Regions from separate parts of the Homo sapiens genome. Here region 2 is linked to region 1. The links are contacts of gene promoters, found by promoter capture Hi-C in blood cells and fetal thymus (Javierre and others, 2016). All regions are on one chromosome and are shown on one strand. The core of a region is centred on a gene start or on the middle of the fragment in contact, and the rest is flanking DNA. Distances in the headings are between cores, read along the strand shown. Region 1 holds the start of TCL1B (TCL1 family AKT coactivator B). Region 2 has its middle 53 kb from the start of C14orf132.

What was found. Contacts are between HindIII fragments. The CHiCAGO score rates a contact against its expected background, and 5 or more counts as called.
Region 2: a fragment that was not itself captured here is called in contact with the fragment with the promoter of TCL1B in region 1 in 1 of 17 cell types (naive B cells); the score reaches 6.8 in naive B cells.

What each region holds. Positions count from the first base shown.
Region 1 is chr14:95,684,989-95,688,219 of GRCh38, forward strand. TCL1B (TCL1 family AKT coactivator B) reads left to right here and starts at 1,438. Exons shown (of 4, transcript NM_004918.4): 1 at 1,438-1,641. The coding sequence starts at 1,480. The HindIII fragment of the contact is 10,915 bases long and covers 1-1,490 here.
Region 2 is chr14:95,985,148-95,988,378 of GRCh38, forward strand. No RefSeq gene overlaps it. Among named protein-coding and RNA genes, the nearest start is that of C14orf132, 53 kb to the right of the region's middle. The HindIII fragment of the contact is 628 bases long and covers 1,403-2,030 here.

The DNA.
Region 1 (3,231 bases), core at 188-2,687:
CACTATACACACAGCCTCATCTGATCCTCAGAGGAGTCCCATAGGGTAGGTACCTACAGCAAACAGGCTTCAGGGGGGCCCAGGAGACCAGGGGTCCCCATGATCCCTGCCTCCTGGTATTCATAACCTTGAGTAAGGATAGGACCTACCCCTGACCAATGGAATATGGCAAAGGTGACACACGTACGTGATTCCATGTATGGATCACATTATATGAGACTGTGATGTCCCTTGTCTTCCTGGCCCACTCCATTCCCACCCCAAGTGTTGGTTCCTTGGAAAAACACTGGGGATGGAGGTGGAATTGCTGTGAAAACAAGACTCAGTCCTCCACAGAAGCTGCCCAGGGAGTTCTTCAAAAGTGGTTATCCTACCTGCCATTTACACTGGATCAGGACTGTCCAGAAATCATTTTCACATCTCCCCAGCAGAATGGCATCATCTCAATACTAATCTTCACTTGAACTAGAAGAATCATGCTTGTGGTTTTCAAAAGGAAAAGGTTCCTATTCATGGTGCATTTAGAAGCAGCCCAGGGTGCTTATAGAACGGACCTGCTTCTTGCTATGTTCTTGAGCTTCTGAGGCCTCTTGACAAAGTCGAGCAAGTAAGACGACCAGGCCAAGTGGGCACTCTGGGCCCCATGGCCAAGGATGGGCTGGCCAGGTGGCCACGTGGCCTCCGGTGGCCTTGTTTCTGTGGGCTTTATCTGATCCTGAGCTCAGATGCTGATAGTGCACTGGCTTATTTTCTAAGGAGAGGGAGCTTGATTTGTGCAGGATGCGCCTTCACCAGATACCTCCAGGGGCAAGAGTCCACTGAGGTTACAGCGCCCCCCGCCCCCCATGCCTCTAAGCTCTAAGCTCAGAGAAGGGTCCCTGACACAGAGTCCTGTTAAAGGAATGGCCACAGGGATAGGAGAGACCAGGGTCGTGCATGCCAGCTCAGGATCTGGGGCAGGATGGTTGGCAGGGGGTCGTGGGGAGCAAAGGAGGGGAATCACCTGACAGAAAATTGGGCAGGGGTGCTCAGGGAGGAGGCTGCGGAGGGACTGGGACCAGTGGAAGGGAGGTGGAATAGGTCTTAGGAGCCAAATTCCTTGCAGAGGCCTGGGGTGAAGCCTGGGCAGCTCTATCCCCGGGAGCCGCCCTTTTGCCTCCAGCAGCTGCCGGTCCAGCCACAGCCCCTCCAGGAGACCCAGGCCGGGTTCCTAACTCCGCTGCTCTTTGGCCTCGTCCCTGCCTAGCCCCTGCTGCAGGTTGCTTTTTTCCCCCCTCCTCCTCCTCCCTCCTCCCTCCTCCCTCCTCCCCCTTCCTCCTCCTCCCCCTCCTCCCCCGACTGGCCCCGCCCCCACTGCCGGCCCCGCCCCCACTGCCGGCCCGGGCCCCACCCACGCCGGAGCTGCTCCATTTAAGGAGATTGCGCAGCTGGAAAGCTACACGTGTGAGCCTAGAGGCGGGTCCCGGTTGCAGACTTGCCATGGCCTCCGAAGCTTCTGTGCGTCTAGGGGTGCCCCCTGGCCGTCTGTGGATCCAGAGGCCTGGCATCTACGAAGATGAGGAGGGGAGAACCTGGGTGACTGTGGTCGTGCGGTTCAATCCCTCGCGTAGGGAATGGGCCAGGGCCTCCCAGGGCAGCAGAGTGAGTCCTGGGCACGAGGGGAGGCTGTGGGGAGGGCTGCGCACTGACCCCTGCCCGTGTGGGACCGCGGTGGGGGTCAGAGGGGGCCGTTCTCACCCGCACTGGAAAACTCACTTCTGTGCAGGTCTAGGAGCGCAGCAATGTCCATGCCCAGCCCTGGCCCCAGGAACACCCCCCGTAAAGGGACCACAGGCACAAGCTTATCCACATGAGATAATGTGGTCCTGCGTGGTGAAGCCGAGGCTAAGGTAGCTCAGGGCTTAGTGCCATTCCCAGTGCCTGCTGGGAAGGCCCACAAATGGGGCAGCTATTGAGCTGGGCTTTGTGGGATGAGTAGGAGTTCTCCAGGTCTAGAAAGGAGGCAGGAGTAGTATAAGCAAAAGCATTGCAGCCTGGAGGCACCAGGTGGGCCAACAGGATGAACATGACATTGGTGTCAGATTACTGATCTGCAAAATGAGAATAATATACCTCTGTGGCAAGCTAGTCACAGACATGCTCACATACATGGCTCACCGCCTGAATGGCCTGGGGAAGCATTTGACTGATAACAGATTCTGGAAATTAATTCAGGAGGCTTGGGTGGAGTCCTAGATTCTTTACTTTTCAAAAGCTCCCCAGGTGATAATGATAATGACTCAGGAAACGGCTGTAGATGAGGGCTTTAGATCACAGCCAGTCTTTGAGGGATGAAGTAAATACAGTAGCGTTTCTGGTGTGGGTGGCGGTGGGGAATTGATTCCAGGACCGACTGTGGATGCTCAAGTCCCTGATAGAAAATGACCTGGGTAGTAATTACATATAACCTCAGCGCATCCTCTACTATATTTGAAATCAGATTACTAATAACACCTAATGCTACACCTACACATCACTTCAAGCTCTGCTTTTGGGAACTTTGTGGAATTTCTTTTTTTCCCAAAATATTTTTAATCTGAGGTTAGTCGAATTCATGGGTGCAGTATCCATGGAAATGGGGGGCTGGCTGTACCTTAGTGTAATGTGGTAAAAGCATATCCGGATATTTAAAATGCCATTTAGGGCTGGGCGCGGTGGCTCACGCCTGTAATCCCAGCACTTTGGGAGGCCGAGATGGGCTTATCACGAGATCAGGAGATCGAGACCATCCTAGCCAACATGGGGAAACCCCGTCTCTACTAAAAATACAAAAAATTAGCCGGGCGTGGTGGTGGACGCCTGTAGTCCCAGCTACTCGGGAGGCTGAGGCAGGAGAATGGCGTGAACCCGGGAGGCGAAGCTTGTAGTGAGCCGAGATCGCACCACTGCACTCCAGCCTGGGTGACAGAGTGAGACTCCGTCCCAAAAAAAAAAAAAAAAAATGCCGTTTAGGTCTTCGTAAACAATTCACTGCCTGTTTGTTTGTTTTTTGAGAAAGTCTTGCTCTGTTGCGGCTGGAGTGCACTGGTGTGATGTTGGCTCACTGCAACCTCCACCTCCCAGGCTCAAGTGATTCTCATGCCTCAGCCTCCCGAGTAGCTTGGATTACAGGCGATTTTTTTTTACAGTTAATTTTTTTTGTTATTTTCAGGAGAGACAAAGTTTAATCATGTGGGCCAGGCTGGTTTTGAA
Region 2 (3,231 bases), core at 467-2,966, 300 kb after region 1:
ATTGTAATCTTTTCATTGGTGTAGGGTCTTGCCTTGATGCTGAAAGCTGCTGACTGATCAGGGTGACGGTTGCTGATGGTTGGTGTGGCTGTGACAATTTATTAAAATAGACAAACATGAAGTTTCCCATATCGATTAACTCTTTTCTTCACAAAATATTCTCTGTAGTATTGTATGCTCTTAGATAGCATTTTACCCACAGTAGAACTTCTTTCAAAATTGAAGTCAGTCCTCTCAAACCCTATCACTGCTTTATCAACTCATTGTATGTAATATTCTAAATCCTTTGCTGTCATTTCAATAATATTCAAAGCATCTTCACTGGGAGTTGACTTCATCTCAAGAGATTTTAGCAATTCACTGATATCTTCAAGTTTCCCTTCTAATTCTAGTTCTCTTGCTGTTTCCACTACATCAGTAGTTACTTCCTCTGCAAAGTCTTGAACCCCTGGAAGTCATTCATGAGGGTTGAAATCAATGTCTTTCAAATTCCTGTTCATATTGATATTTTGACTTCCTCCTATGGATAAGGAATGTTCTTAATGACATTTAGAATGGTGAGTGTTTTCCAGAAAGTATTCAATTTACTTTGTCCAGATCCATCAGAGGATTCACTATCTATGGCAGCTATAGCCTTATAAAATGTATTTCTTAAATAATAAGACTTGAAAGTCAAAATTACCTCTTGATCCTTGGGCTGCAGAATGGATGTTGTGCTAGCAAGCATCGAAACAATATTCGTCTCCTTGTACAGCTCCATCAGAGCTCTTGGGTGACTAGGCTCGTTGTCAATGAGCAGTAATATTTTGAAAGGAATCTTTTCTTATGAGCAGTAAGTCTCAACAGGGGACTTAAGATACTCAGTAATTTATTCAGTAATCAATTTCATTAATTTCTCCTCTTCAGCTATGGAAGTCCTAGATGGCCTTTTCTTCTAGTAGAAGGCTGTTTCATCTACACTGAAGCCACCTTCATCAGTGGTCTTCTGGATAACTTGCTGCAACTTCTACATCAGCACTTGCTGCTTTCCCTTGCTCTTACATGTTATGGAGACAGCTTCTTTCCTTAAACCTCATGAACCAACCTTTGCTAGCTTCCAGCTTTTCTTCTGCAGCTTCTTCACTTCTCTCAACCTTCACAGAACTGAAGAGAGTTGGGGCCTTGTTCTGGGTTAGGCTTTGGCTTAAGAAAATGTGGCTGACTTGATCTTCTATTCTTATCACTAAAACTTTCTCCATATCAGCAATAAGGCTGCTTAGCCTTCTTATCTTTTGTGTGTTTACTGGAGCAGCACTTTTAATTTCCTTCAAGAATTTTTCCTTTACATTCACAACTTGGCTAACTGGCCCAAGAGGCCTAGCTTTTGGTCTGTCTCACTTTTTTTGACATGCCTTCCTCACTAAGCTTAATCATTTCTAGCTTTTAATTTAAAGTGACAGACGTGTGACTTTTCTTTTCACCTGAATGCTTCAAGGCCCATTGTAGGGTTATTAACTGGCCTAATGGCAATATTGTTATGTCTCAGGAAATAGGGAGGCTTGAGGAGAGGGGGAGAGATGATAGATCAGCTAATCAATGAAGCAGTCAGAACACATGCATTTATCAACTAAGTTCACTGTTTATGGCACCCCAAGACAATTGCAGTAGTGACATCAGAGATCATTGATCACAGATCACCATAACAGATATAATAATGAAAAAGTCTGAAGTATTTTGAGATTACCAAAATGTGAAACAGAGACACAAAGTGAGCACATGCTGTTAGAAAAATAAGACTTGCTGAACACAGAGTTGCTATAACCCTTTAATTTGTAATAGATGGAATATCTGTGAAGTGCAAAAAAGTGAAGTGCAATAAAATGAAGTTTATACTTGTGCTACATTTTTGAGGGTCATGTTACCAAAGAACCATACAGACAGACTGAATAAGACCTTCAGTCTTCAAGCCTTAAGGCTTGTACCAAACTTTTAGAACAGCAGTCCATAAGGAGGGCTTATTTCTCAATGCCTGATTCATGTGCTACCAAGGAAGCTTACAAAAAAAGAAATAACCTCATGGGTAGAACCAGGCTCATGGAGAAAAGTGAACAAAGCAGCATCTCTCAGAGAGCAAAACTAGAGCCTAATCATGGATGCCGAGGATATGGGCTTTCATGACGTCTGCCCAGTGGGATTTCAGAATTGCTATGGACAGTGACTCTATGTACTTCCCATCCTTCCCTTTTCCAAGTGGGAGGTGCCTATTGAGGCCATATTATCTCAGTTTCATCATTATATATTGGAAGCAGGGTTGGCAGGTGACTTTTTTTTTTTTTCCAGTTTTGGTATCCTTGGACCAAAAGGAGCCACATGCGAACTTGCTGGGAAGAAGGCCAGACATCACCCAGAGATCTGAGTTTGAACTGGATGTGGTGACTGGGGGAGATTTTAGAGGAGGGGTTGAGTGAGCTCTATGTGGGGGCAGAAAGAAATGAGAAGACAGTGATGAGAAGGGCACGCTCAGCAGAGATGGCATACACCAAGTATTCCATGTGCTTCTTTGCACTTCTCAGCCTCCCTTGCAGCTGGATTGAGACTGTGAATAATTATGGCCTGTGAATGCAAGTGGCATGTGTCTTTCTCTCTTGCAGAGGCAGTATATATCAAGTGACATACTAAAAAGTAGAAGAGACCCCCCTGAGCACATTGAACTTTACACAAGGAAAAACATAAACCTTTATTCCATGAAGTCATAGAGATTCCTGGGTTAGTTAGTTTCTGCAGCAGACCCTAGCCTGTCCTGACCAATATTCTGACTATGTGCTACTTTTCTTCAAGTCACTGAGTAGGAACAGATATTGAATAACAAAATAGCATGTTTAGGTAGTTATGAAGTTTCCAAATTTTAATAAAATTCTGATGCTCCTGGTCCCTGGACTTCTAGAACCTCTTCTGAACCAGTCTACAAGTTTGATTGCACTTATTTTTTCTGCTTTTATTTCTGAGCGTGAGGGAGGAGCTGGAAGACTCACTGATAGCTCTCTCTCCTCTTTCTCACTCTAGCCCTTCAGTAAACTGTGTGGGCTAGGTTTGGGGGGAACTTACATTATTTTATATTCTTTAATTTACTGAAATACTATGTATTTATATATAAATAATATACAACTGCATTTATAAATAGTATTATGCTAGAGGACACACTCACTGGACTTTCCTCTATACTCCCCAATCCTACATTAAGTTATATTCAGG